Linked DNA regions of Homo sapiens: regions 2, 3 and 4 are each linked to region 1. The links are contacts of gene promoters, found by promoter capture Hi-C in human tissues and cell types (Jung and others, 2019). All regions are on one chromosome and are shown on one strand. The core of a region is centred on a gene start or on the middle of the fragment in contact, and the rest is flanking DNA. Distances in the headings are between cores, read along the strand shown. Region 1 holds the start of ZNF442 (zinc finger protein 442). Region 2 has its middle 7.4 kb from the start of ZNF441. Region 3 overlaps ZNF441 (zinc finger protein 441). Region 4 has its middle 3.3 kb from the start of ZNF439.

The links. The method cuts DNA at HindIII sites, captures the fragments that hold promoters and counts their contacts. A contact is called where the count stands out against the background at its distance.
Region 2: a fragment that was not itself captured here is called in contact with the fragment with the promoter of ZNF442 in region 1 in 4 of the 25 tissues and cell types used here (dorsolateral prefrontal cortex, hippocampus, mesenchymal stem cells and 1 more).
Region 3: a fragment that was not itself captured here is called in contact with the fragment with the promoter of ZNF442 in region 1 in 2 of the 25 tissues and cell types used here (hippocampus and lymphoblastoid cells).
Region 4: a contact is called between a fragment that was not itself captured here and the fragment with the promoter of ZNF442 in region 1, in 6 of the 25 tissues and cell types used here (adrenal gland, dorsolateral prefrontal cortex, heart left ventricle and 3 more).

The regions. Positions count from the first base shown.
Region 1 is chr19:12,364,235-12,367,523 of GRCh38, forward strand. ZNF442 (zinc finger protein 442) reads right to left here and starts at 1,449. Exons shown (of 6, transcript NM_030824.3): 1 at 1,299-1,449; 2 at 568-1,009. RefSeq lists a silencer at 983-1,162 and an enhancer at 1,263-1,362. The HindIII fragment of the contact is 16,775 bases long and covers 1-2,454 here.
Region 2 is chr19:11,757,996-11,761,284 of GRCh38, forward strand. No RefSeq gene overlaps it. Among named protein-coding and RNA genes, the nearest start is that of ZNF441, 7.4 kb to the right of the region's middle. The HindIII fragment of the contact is 5,499 bases long and covers 1-3,289 here.
Region 3 is chr19:11,783,650-11,786,938 of GRCh38, forward strand. It overlaps ZNF441 (zinc finger protein 441), which reads left to right. Exons shown (of 4, transcript NM_152355.3): 4 at 1-429. Among named protein-coding and RNA genes, the nearest start is that of ZNF491, 13 kb to the right of the region's middle. The HindIII fragment of the contact is 7,851 bases long and covers 1-3,289 here.
Region 4 is chr19:11,843,790-11,847,078 of GRCh38, forward strand. No RefSeq gene overlaps it. Among named protein-coding and RNA genes, the nearest start is that of ZNF439, 3.3 kb to the right of the region's middle. The HindIII fragment of the contact is 5,747 bases long and covers 1-3,289 here.

The sequences.
Region 1 (3,289 bases), core at 199-2,698:
GTCGCTACTAAAAATACAAAAAATTAGCCGGGTGTGGTGGTGGGTGCCTGTAATTCCAGCTACTCGGGAGGGTGAGACAGGAGAATTTCTTGAACCCGGGAGGCGGAGGTTGCGGTGAGCCGACATCGCACCATTGCACTCCAGCCTGGGCAACAAGAGCACAACTCCATCTCAAAAAAAAAAAAAAGAAAGAAAGAAAAAAAGAAGCCATCCATTGCTCTCTGAAAACAAAATGAAAATTAAAATACTGGGACTCTGAAATTTAGCACGGGTGGGGCGGAGGAGGGAGGAGTTCATGATGTTGCTGTGAACTGAGGAGGGAAAGTTAGCCTGCGTAAGGCTCTGGAAACCAAGGGAGTTACTACCACCCCTAGGAGGAGTTAGAATGAGGGAACAGGGTAGTGGATTTGAGACCCTGCTACCCCCATCTCTGAAAAACTCGAAGAGGAATCAGTCACCCTGGGAAGAAAAGAAGGGACTGGGGACCCCGCAGACCACAGCTCCTCCCGTGCACAAACCCCACGCAAGAATCTGGATTCTGATTGCAGTTAGATATTAACCAGGTACCCTGAGCCCCACTGCCTCGCGGGGGCCGCCTTCCTGAGAGTCAGGTCACAGAAGACACTGACCGCCGGCTTCTGCATTGTGCCTGGGGATAAGATCTCGGAGAGCTGCTCGAGTTGCCCAAGTTCTTTCTCAGATCTTGAATTCCAACGGAAAGGCTGGCGCCAAGCAGGGTGAAAACCCCACGAGGGAACCCACTCAGCAGGAGAATGCGGTTTCTTCACCTCCCGTCCCAGGATTCGCCTGTCACTTCCCCACCAACCAGCGACCCCACACTTCAGCCGCCCCTGTCCAGACCCCTAAACACCCCCATCCCCAAACCTCTCATGGAGGCGGAACTGGGGTCTTCTCTCCTCTCCCCCTATTAAACTGTTTCTGCTGCAGGCCTTGGAGTCTCGGTGCAGTGACTCGGACCGCGAACCTGTGCCGGTTACAGCCGCACAATCTGGGAAGACGCGGAGCTGTGGGCATGGAGCTGCCCCAGAGAGGGCGCGGGAGCCGGGGCCGCAGTTGCTGCGCAGAAACGGGACAGGACGCCCGGGGTCCCGGCTGCCGGCCCAGCCCCCAGCTCCCACCCCGCGGCCGAGGGGACTGAAGGCCGGCTGGGCCAGGGGAACTCGGGTCCACAGACCCCGCAGTCGCCGCGGGGACGCCCGGGTCCCGCCACAGCCGGTTCTGGCCGGTTCCAACCAGTCCTTCGCCCTGCCCCAGGACGCCGGGCCCCGCACACTCACCATTTCCCGGCTTCCGCGGTGTCCCGTGTTCTCCCCAAGGTTCCCCGCTGCCAGCATAGGACTCAGCGTGACAGTGCCTGCCACTGACCTGCCAGGGCTTCTCTCAGCTACAGAGCCAGGAGCGGGAGCTCAGAGGGGTGTAGAAAGCTCCACCCTCCTCCCGGCAGCGCGCCTGACTGGCAGTTCCCAAGAACTCGCCCCCAACACTGATTGGGTAGAGCTCCAAATTCCGCCCCCCCAGGGAACTGATTGACAGAAGAAGGATCTTACACGGCTGAGTGGAGCGAGATGAAGCGGTTCCAGACACAGCCCTTGATAGGGTGGGCTTCCTCCCTTCGCTGTGACCTGACCCCTCCCAGGGGACATTTGCATTTAAGCGGAATTTCCTGCCTGTACTCAATGGGCTCTTCCTGCTCCTTCTTCCTGGACGGGGACCCACAAGTGTGTGCTGGGAATTCGAGACTCACTGCCCAGTGGAGCCATCCCCTGGCCTCAGAGCGGTAGGGGAGGCCCAGGCCACACAAACCACACTGAAGCAGGAGGGAAGGCCTGGTGTCCTCCAGGGATCAGGAATTTAGGATGAGACTGCTGGCTCCATGGTCAAGCCTTTCTCCCACCTTATCTCCCAATCTACTCATTCTCAGACCAGAAAATAAAAACACATCAACAATGAAATAAAATTGTTAAATGCATGGAAAATCTGGAATTATATGGCAGTAATCTTCTATAAAGGAATCAAAAGAAGGGAAAAGAAAAAACCTGAATTAGTTCAGAGAAATTTCAGCCACAGTTCAGCAGGAAACCCCCTTTCAGGAGGTTAAACATATTTTCAAGCTTAGAAGGCAGATTCTGACTCCTGAAGTTGAGTCCCAGAGTGTGTAACCAGCAGCTTAGCAGCTGAGTCTCAAACCACGTTTTAAACCTTTTTTTTCTTCTTCTTTCCCTTTTCCTCTTTCCCCTCCTGATCTCAAGATAATAACTTCGAGATAAACTGCATAGATGTTACCTCTCATCTTAAAATACAGCCTCAGAATGTGCTGTGAACTTCCACTCCCTTTCCTTTCCCATACTACACTGCCATGCCTTATGCACATTTATTTTTATTTTATTTTTTTGGAGACGGAGTCTCACTCTGTCACCCAGGACAGACTGTAGTGGCTCAATCTTGGCTCACTGCAACCTCCGCCTCCCAAGTTGAAGCAATTCTCCTGCCTCAGCCTCCCGAGTAGCACACTGGACTACAGGTGCACGCTGCCATGCCCAGCTAATTTTTTTGTATTTTAGTAGAGACAGGGTTTCACCATGTTGCCCAGGCTGGTCGTGAACTCCTGAGCTCAGGCAATCCGCCGGCCTCGGCCTCCCAAAGTGTTAGGATTACAGGCGTGAGCCACCACGCCTGGCCTGTGCACATTTATTTACCTAAATACTTATTAAGCACACACCATGCTCTCTTATTTGGTCATATATTTCCTTAGAAGCTTCAGGGGTTGGATCTTGTTAGGTACCAGGCACCTCTGGAATTCTCTTTCCAACAAAAGATTACTTCAAAGACAGAACCCACACCCAGCTGAAGAGTGACTACTATCGGGGAAACCAGCCCCCAATATTTCAACGTAGGTTCTATTTTCCCTAAGTGTCGGCCCATCTGAGAAATTAAGAGAAAGAGTACAAAGAGAAGAATTTTACAGCTGGGCCTCCAGGGGTGACATCACATATCGGCAGGTTCCATGATGCCCACCTGGGCTGCAAAACCAGCAAGTTTTTATTAGGGATTCTAATAGGGGAGGGGGTGTACGAACAGGGAGTAAGTCACAAAGATCACATGCCTCAAAGGGCAATAAAAGATCACAAGGCAAAGGCAAAATTAGAATTACTGATGAGGGTCTGTGTCCTGCTGTGCATGCACTGTCTTGATAAACATCTTAACAGGAAACAGGGTTCGAGAGCAGACAACCAGTCTGACTAGAATTTACCAGGCTGGAACTTCCCAA
Region 2 (3,289 bases), core at 546-3,045, 610 kb before region 1:
CACCTGGAATGTGGCTGAAAGTTTCTCCAAATTATCTACCTCCTTTACTTTTACAGAATCAGTCTACCATATGATATCTGTAAAAACAGAGAAGTACAATTACTACAGGTTTGTTTATAAGTGTTTTTTATATATATTAATAGGTCTTAAATTTACATTGTTGACATTATCATGCAAAGCTTAGGTGTCATGCCCTGTTTGAACATGAACGGACTGAATGCTGTGCAAGATAACTCAACTGTGGCTATCATCGGAACAGTAATATTCACGTGGGAATTCTTAGTACTGTTTTCCAAGGAAATTATTTTGCAGACACACTTAACAGCTATGTCCCATTTAAGTATGTTTTTGAAGAAAATTTTCTAAGAGTGAATAAATTTAAGCCAGGATTATTCTTTTTTATTTATTTATTTATTTATTTATTTTGCTTGTTTTAAAATTTTCCTGTCTTTTTTTTTAGACGGAGTCTTGCACTTTCGCCTGAGCTGGAGTGCAATGGCATGATCTCGACTGACTGCAACGTCCTCCTCCCGGGTACATGCGATTCTCCTGCCTCAGCCTCCTAAGTAGCTGGGACTACAGGTTCACACCACCACGCCTGGCTAATTTTTTGTATCTTTAGTAGAGACAGGGTTTCACTATGTTGGCCAGACTGGTCTCGAATTCCCGACCTCCTGAACTGCGCCCCACCCCCCCACCCTTTCAAAGTGCTGGAATTATAGGTGTGAAAAATTTCCTGTCACTTTAAGAATTATTCCAAAGACATATCTTTCTCTTCCTAGGGCAAATTACCTTAGATTTCTTCTGGGAATTTTGTACTAATCTTTAATGTTTTGGTCTTCCCATTTCATTCCTAAAATGTAGACCCAGAAGAATCACTATATATTATTATAAAATTACATTGAGGCCGGGGGCGGTGGTTCACGCATGTAATCCTAGCACTTTGGGAGGCCGAGGTGGGTGGATCGTCTGAGCTCAGGAGTTCGAGACAAGCTTGGGCAACACAGTGAAACCCCGTCTCTACTAAAAAATACAAAAAAATATTAGCCGGGCATGGCGGCGTGCGCCTGTAGTCCCAGCTACTCGGGAGGCTGAGGCAGGAGAATCAGTTGAACCCAGGAGGCAGAAGCTGCAGTGAGCCAAGATCGTGCCACTACACTCCAGCCTGGGTGACAGAGCAAGACTCCATCTCAAAAAAAAAATAATAATAAATAAAAATAAAATTATATTAAAAATGTAAGATTTTATGTAGACTGCAGTTATGGATGATTTATTCACCAAACCACAGTTGACTCTTCAACAACACAGGTTTGAACTGCATAGATCTCCTTACATACAAATTTTCTTCAGTTTCTGCTACTACTGAGACAGCAAGACCAACCCCTCCTCTTATTCAGCCTACTCAATGTGAAGACAATAAGGATGATAACATTTATGATGCTCCACTTCTACTTAATGAAATAGTAAATATAGTTTTTTCTCCTTGTGATTTTCTGATTAACATTTTTCTCTGCCTTAGTTTATTGTGAGAAAACAATATGTAATGCATATGACATATAAAATATGTGTTAATTGAATGTATATCTTACCAGTAAGGTTTCTGGTCAACAGTAGGCTATTAGTAGTCAAGTTGCGGGGGAGAAAAAAGTTATTTGAAGATTTGTGACTGCATTGAGGGCTGGTGCCCCTAATCCCTGCATTGTTCAAGGGTCAAACGTATTTCTTTTATATTCTAAATCTTTGAACAGCATTGGTGACGAAGAAACAAATATTCGTAATTGACTAAGTAAAGACATGATGTCCCCCTTACCTATACAGTCTAGGTTCCTGATGGTTTCCCGTAGCACATCTCTGTAGAGACTCTTCTATGATGGACCCAGCAAAGCCCACTCCTCCCAGGCAAAAGATCAAAGCCACATCCTCAAAGGCCACTGAGTCCTGAAACACCCGACACGTGCAGAGGAGGAAAGCTGAAACTGACAGCACTGGGAATCTGTACTCACTACATAAATGTCACATGATGCTGTGGTGTCCAAACATTTATGCAACGACACGGTAATCCAACTCTTACCCTCTTTCTAAACTCATTTTCTCCCAGAATGCAATTCTAATGCTAGAATTAAACGTGTTTGGTAAAATAACAGTCGAATTATAAAATGCCACTCCTTGGTGAGTTAAAGGAGTGACATTTATTGCCTAGATCACCCCTAATATCTATGTGTACAGGATGTTTGTAATTCCTGATGTGACAAAGTCCTCCTACCTAATGGGCAGAAGAGTTAACATCAGCTGTCCTGAGACCGCATATTGTTACAAATGCTTGCTCACAAAGTTGAACCTTTCACTATATCTAGGAACTAAATTTAGTTAGGGGGCTTCACCAACATAAGCGATAATGGAGGATGAGTGTCCCTAAACTATGTAAAAAATATGGTATCTGCTGAACTCCTATGTTCCCTCTGAGAGTTCAAACTTTTGTGATATGCTTGGCAGAGGGAGCATACCTGATCATTCACTACTAGGTTTTTTGCTTGTTTTTGTTTTTGTTTTTGTTTTTTTTGAGACAGAGTCTTGCTCTGTCTCCAGGCTGGAGTGCAGTGGCGCAATCTCGGCTCACTGCAACCTCCGCCTCCTGGGTTCAAGCGATTCTCCTGCCTCAGCCTCCCGAGTGGCTGGGATTACAGGCGCACACCACCATGCCCAGCTAATTTTTGTATTTTTAGTAGAGACAGGGTTTCACCATGTTGGCTAGGATGGTCTCGATCTCTTGACCTCGTGATCCACCCACCTCAGCCTCCCAAAGTGCTGGGATTACAGGAGTGAGCCACCGCGCCCGGCCATTCACTGCTAGGTTTGAATGTTTGTCCCCTCCAAAATGCTTGTTGAAACATAATCGCCAATGTGGCACTAATGAAAGGTGAGGCCTTTAAGAGGTGAGTAGATCTTAAGGGTTCAGACCTCATAAATAAATTAATCCATTCATGAATTCATGGCTTACTGAATTAATGAGTTATCTCAGGAGTGGGACTGATGGCCATATTAAAAAAGAAGGGAACCTGAGCTACCACATTCAGCCCATTCTCCATGTGATACCTTCAACCACCTAGAAACTCTGCACAGCCCCCATGACCAAGAAGGCTTTCACCACATGAAGCCCTCTTACTTGCTAGGTTCCAGAACTATAATAAATAATTTTTTTTGTTGTTTTTTGGCTTTTCTTTTTAGATGGACTCTTGCTTTGTTGCCCAGATGGGAGTGCAGTGGCACGATCTCGGCTCACTGCAACCTC
Region 3 (3,289 bases), core at 350-2,849, 580 kb before region 1:
AGTGAAATAAGCCAGGCACAGAAAGACAAATACCACATGTTCTCACTTATATGTGGGAGGTGAAAAACTTCACCTCATGGAGATAGGGAATAGAATAAGTTATCCGGGGCTGAGAAGGGGAAATGAAGAGAAATTGGTGAATATGTACAAATTTCCATTTAGATCAAAGGAATAAGTTCTGATGTTAGAAAGCATACTAGAGTGAACTATAGTTAGCAAAAATATATTGCATATTTCAAAGTAGTTGGAAGAGAGGACTTGAAATGTTACCAACACATAGAAGTGGTAAATACTCAAGATCATGGATACCCCAAATACGCTGACTTGACCATTACACATTCTATGCATGCAAGAAATGCTCATGTGTACCTTATATATATGTAAAATATGTATCAATAAAAGAAAATATATAAGATAGTTTTAAAATAACACTATTGTCAGGTGTCTGTGGGCTGAGGAACAGCCTAAGGTGTAAACTTAAGTTCTTCTCAGGTCTTTTCTTAGTTGCACCTGTCCCTGGGCATGTGTGGTAACTGTCTAATTTTCTCTGCATGTATGGTTATTTTTGCACAACCTAATCTTCAGTGGCTCTCAAAAGGAGAGGAATAAAAGCATTAAGGGAAAAATAAAAGGCACCAGCCTGGAAGTCACTTCAGATGGAGGGGAAGGGCCTTCAAAAAATGGAGAGAGATGCAGCAGCAACAGTCACCACCACTTCTTTGTCTGTAACTCTGTGATCAGAAGCAACAATTATCAAGCAGTGCGCAGATCCCCAATATTTGGAAGACAGGTCCTTTTTGTCCACCCTGGCCCCCCAAAACTGCATGCAGACTGCTGTTAGAACTTATGCATAGCTACCTGTCATGGAGCTGAGGAGGGGGAATGAGTCAGGGCTGCTGACTCAACTAAGAGTTGAAATTGACCGAAATTAACCCAATTTTATTAGCCAATTATTTCCCTGGAAGCTGCAAGCTTTTAATAGTATCCGCAGTTTCAAAATAGCTACATGAGTTGGATTCTGCCAATGCAAATCCAGGTGGGGGATACAGATTCTTCATGCTTTTTATTCTGCCATCTTCCTTGAATCCTCTGACCTGACTTTTTATACTAATACATTACTTCAGGTCCCATCCCACATGTCACCTCCTCAGCAAGTCTTTCTGTCACCTCAGTTACTCCTTTCCATATATACATTTTTTTTAATACACTTTTCAGAGTCAGGGAAATCCGATTAGGTTCACAGACTTTACTGCTTTCTTAACAACCTATGAAAAGTCAAATCATATAAATGAACCAAACTGAATAGTGTCACTGTTACTTTTATGAAGTGTTATCCCGTAGATTTAAAAAAAAAGAAAGAAAGCCGGGCGCGGTGGCTCACGCCTGTAATCCCAGCACTTTGGGAGGACGAGGAGGGTGGATCACCTGAGGTCAGAAGTTCAAGACCAGCCTGGTCAACATGGTGAAATCCCGTCTCTACTAAATATACAAAAATTAGCCGGGCGTGGTGGCAGGCGCCTGTAATCCCAGCTACTCGGGAGGCTGAGGCAGGAGAATCGCTTGAACCCGGGAGGCAGCGGTTGCAGTGAGCCGAGATCGCACCATTGCGCTCCAGCCTGGGCAACAAGAGCGAAACTTCGTCTCAAAAGAAAAAAAAAACTGCTTTGCACCGATTTGCAGAAAAAGAGACAACGAACTCCCTCTCGTGGTGAGGATGGCATTAACATCCACACATAACTCCTTTAGGGTGTGGATTTCTGAATTGTGCTGAGATCTCCAGAATTTACAGCAAGTGATGGTCAGTTTAAAATATTCTGTGCCTTCAATGAAGAAGTAGTGTAGCAGGTTAGGGAGAAGAGAAGCAAATAAAATGGATGAGGTCCTCACTTAGTATATCACAATCTCTCCTGGAAGACTATTTATTTATTTATTTTTTTGAGACGGAGTCTCGCTTTGTCACCCAGGCTGGAGTGCAGTGGCGTGATCTCGGGTCACTGCAAGCTCCGCCTCCCGGGTTCACACCATTCTCCTGCCTCAGCCTCCCGAGTAGCTGGGACTACAGGCGCCCGCCACCACGCCCAGCTAATTTTTTGTATTTTTAGTAGAGACGGGGTTTCACCGTGTTAGCCAGGATGGTCTCGATCTCCTGACCTCGTGATCCACCCGCCTCGGCCTCCCAAAGTGCTTGGATTACAGGCATGAGCCACCGCGCCCGGCTCTGGAAGACAATTTCAAATGAATAAATCAAGGAACATGAGAGAGCCACAAGGGAGTTCAACCTGAGTCCAGTTAGACTCCTTGAAAGGGAAAGCTATTTACAGAATACTTCGGATTTAGCTGCGGAAATGATTTGATGGGTCAGTGGTGGTGGAGTGAGGTTGAGACCATTTAAAATAGGTGACGTAAACATGTGAAACCTCAGACACAGAGCCCTTGGTGTTAACCATGATCTGTTGAAAGTCAGAAGAATGAAGCAGAGGGAATTGTTGGAAGCTCACATTTGATTAGCTTTTTTACATATAACATGTGTTGACAAGGCCGGGAGCGGTGGCTCACGCCTGTAATCCCAGCACTTTGGGAGGACGAGGAGGGTGGATCACCTGAGGTCAGGAGATCGAGACCATCCTGGCTAACACGGCGAGACCTCGTCTCTACTAAAAATACAAAAAATTAGCTGGGCGTGTTGGCGGGCGCCTGTAGTCCCAGCTACTCGGGAGGCTGAGGCAGGAGAATGGTATGAACCCAGGAGGTGGAGCCTGCAGTGAGCCGAGATGGCGCCACTGCACTCCAGCCTGGACAACAGTGCGAGACTCCATCTCGACAACAACAACAACAAAAAACAATGTGTTGACGTAGAAATTATTTATTGATGTATTTTTCTCAAACTAATAATTATTTTGAAGGGTTTTTTTTCCACCATGTAAACATAACCAACTCCCAGGAGCTTCCATGTGTATATGCTTAAATGTATAATATGTGTAAAAGTTCTATCAGACTTAAATCATCCATTTATCACACTTTAAACACCTATGAATGACCAGCCTGGGCAACATACCAAGACCTAATTTCTACCAAAAAAATTTTCTTTCTAATGATCCAGGCATAGTGACATGTACCTGTAGTCCTAGCTACTCCAGAGGATGAGGTGGGAGGATTGCTTGAGCCTAGGAGGTTGAGGCTGCAATGATCCGTGATGGCATCACTGCACTCCAGCCTGGGTGACACAGTGAGACCCTGTCTCAAATAGAAGAAAATGTCAAATAAGATGAATGTGATTGCTTAAACTCTT
Region 4 (3,289 bases), core at 483-2,982, 520 kb before region 1:
AAAGAAGGGATCAGGGGGCTCCTTGCTTCTAGTGAGCAAGGGCCCTGAGCTTCTATAGCCCTTTGTTTTTATTGGGTAGAAAGAGCAGGGAGGAGGAGGTAATGGTTGGTCAGCTGCTTGATTTATCACAGGTTCACATGATTACTTTCTTTGTACAACAGGCTTCAGATGTGCCTGTAGATAATCACAAGAAACACTGCGCTTGGGGAGTAACTGCCCTCAGCATTCTTTCTGGGTGGCAGACGTAGTTTGTCAGTTTGCCAACAAGCTGCATTCATGAGAAGAGTTTGCTGTTTGCTCATTAGCCTCCAGTGGTATACTGAGTTGATCAGGACCCCCATTCTTTCAGCCTCCAACACTGTCTGATTACATTGTTTCCAAAGCCTCTTTTATGGACTTCTGTTTACCCCTTGGCGTGTCCTGCATTTACTCTCCTCAAAATGTGTACTTAGAGGCCGGGTGCGGTGGTTCATGCCTGTAATCCCAGTACTTTGGGAGGCCAAGGCAGGAGGATCCCTTGAGCCCAGGAGTTTAAAACCAGCCTGGGCCACACTGGGAGACCCTGTCTCTAAAATAAAATGTATACTTACAAGCCCTAAACCCCAACAGGGTCATATTTGGACACAGACCTTTTAGGAGATCACATACATTTATAAAGGAGAGCCCTCATAATGGGATTAGTAAGAAGAGAGAGAATTCTCTGTTTCTCCAGCATGGGAGGACAAAGCAAGAAGGCATCTAGCTGTAAGCCAGGAAGATAGCCTTCACTGGGAACAAAATTGCTGGCAGCAAGATTTTGGACTTCCCGCACTCCAGAATTGTGAGAAACAAATGTTTGCCGTTTAAGAAACTGAGTCCATGGTATGAGTCCATGGTATTTTGTTATACCAGCCTGAGCTAAGTCACCCCAAGAGTCCTCACATTAACCATATACTGTCGTACAAGTGCTGCATTTGGATCTACCTGGAATGTCTCCAAGTCTTCTACTTTTCCTCTTGGACCCATTGTGAGAATAGGTTTTGCTTCATAGGCAACTGCTGGTGATAGTAGTGATAGCCCATAACAACTAGGGAGTTAAAGAAACTTCCTTTCTCTCTCTCTCTCTCTCTGTTTTTGAAATGGAGTTTTTGCTCTTGTTGCCCAGGCTGGAGTGCAATGGCACGATATCGGGTCACTGCAACTTCTGCCTCCTGGGTTCAAGTGATTCTCCTGCGTCAGCCTCCCGAGTAGCTTGGATTACAGGTGTGCACCACCACGCCTGGATAATTTTCGTTTTGTTAGTTACAGACGGGGTTTCACCATGTTGGCCAGCTTGGTCTCGAACTCTTGACCTCAGGTGATCCACCTGCCTTGGCCTCCCAAAGCGCTAAGATTACAGGTGTGAACCACTGTGCTCGGCCTCTTTTATATGTGTGTGTATATATATATATTCTCTTTTTTAATAAAAGTAAATAGAAACTAGGTCTTACTATGTTGCCCAGGGTGGTCATAGCCCAAGATTTTGGGCTCAAGCGATCTACCCGCCTCGCTCACCCAAAGTGCTGAGATTAAGGCGTGAGAAACTGTGCCAGGCCAAATGAAAGAAACTTAGTGGGAGGCCTGGCACAGTGGCTCACACCTGTAATCCCAGCACTTTGGGAGGCTGAGGCGGGTGGATCACTTGAGCTCAGGAGTTCAAGACCAGCCTGGACAGCATGTTGAAACCCTGTCTTTACTAAAAATACAAAAAATTAGCCGAGCATGGTAATCCCATTCTCACAGTCATAGAAAGGTTCTTTTTTAAGGATTCTACCTACTTGAGAGCATCATATACTGCCAGCACTTGTTCACTTCAAGAGTGTCTGGTTTCATCTCTATGACATAATTACAACCAAAATCCTAAAGGAACTGATTTACCACACTGTGTTTGCCATAAGGCCCAATTTGTACCTGCAGCAGCAGCTGTATCATCCCAACTCACAGCTCTACCCTCTAAAGGTGTGCCTGAGGCTTGTGATCCAGTCCATAGGGAAATATCACTACCTGCTGTGTTTTATAATTGGACCATCCAAGGGTTGTCAGGGTTTTCCCAGAGAGTTTTGTGGGATTTTTTTTTTTTTTTGAGACCAGGTCTTGCTGAAGTTAGTATGGCAGCATACTAACACATTAACCTGTCGAAAGCTTCCTGCAGAGCTGTGTCCCAGTCTCAAAGTGCCCCTTTCTAATAATTCTATATATTGGTATCAAACTTTGGGCTAAGTGTCAGATAAATGCTCTCCAATAATCCAAAGACCAACAAATGTCTGGATTTCTTTTTTCTTTTTTGTTTTTTAAGAGACATAGTGTGGTTCTGTTTCCCAGGCTGGAGTGCAGTGGTGGGATCATATAGCTCACTGCAGAAACTCCTGGGATCAAGGGATCCTCCTGCCTCAGCCTCCCAAGTAGCAGGGAATAAAGGCACATGCCACCATGCCCAATTGTTTATAAATTTTTTTGTACAGATGGAGTCTCACTGTATTTTCCAGGCTGTTCTTGAACGCCCAGGCTCAAGTGATTCCCCAACCTCAGCCTCCCAAAGTGCTGAGATTACAGTCATGAACCAATGCACCCAGCCCTGAAAAGGAAATATTTCGAATGGAAATTCAAAGGGAGAACATCTAATGTTCAAGTTGATGTCTATAGAGCAGTTAACGGGAACTATCATTTAGGGTCTGTGGGATTCTAGGACACTAGGTATGAAACAAATATGAGGAAGGTCAGAGAACAAGCTGACTTAATGATTAATGCTGAAGGTGCTGCCAGCTTGGTTTAAGTTTTCCTCCTCCCTTCCTCCCTGATGAATTTGATAAAGTTTAAAGGGATGGTTTCACCAGGGGCCTTTTACATTGACAGCAAGGAGGTCATCCGCCTGGTAAATCCTCAGTAGTCCAAGCCTCTTACATGGCTAGAATGATCCAGTCCATAAGGAAACGTCACCACCCTCTGTGTTTTACAATTAGACCATCCAAGGGGGTCAGGGTTTCCCCAGGGAATTTGGTGGGATTTTTTTTTTTTTGAGACCGTGTCTTGCTGAAGTACAGTAGCCTGATCAAAGCTCACAGCAGCCTCAAACTTTGGGGCTCGAGTAATCCTCCTGCCTCAGGCTCCTGAGTAGCTGAGACTAAGGGTACACACCACCTCTCCAGGCTAATAAAAAAAAAATTATGGAGATGGGAGTGTCTCACTTCACTGCTCAGGGTGGTCTTCAACTTCGGGCTTCAAGTGATCCTCCCACTTTGGCCTCCTAAAATGTTGGGATTGCAGGTGTAAG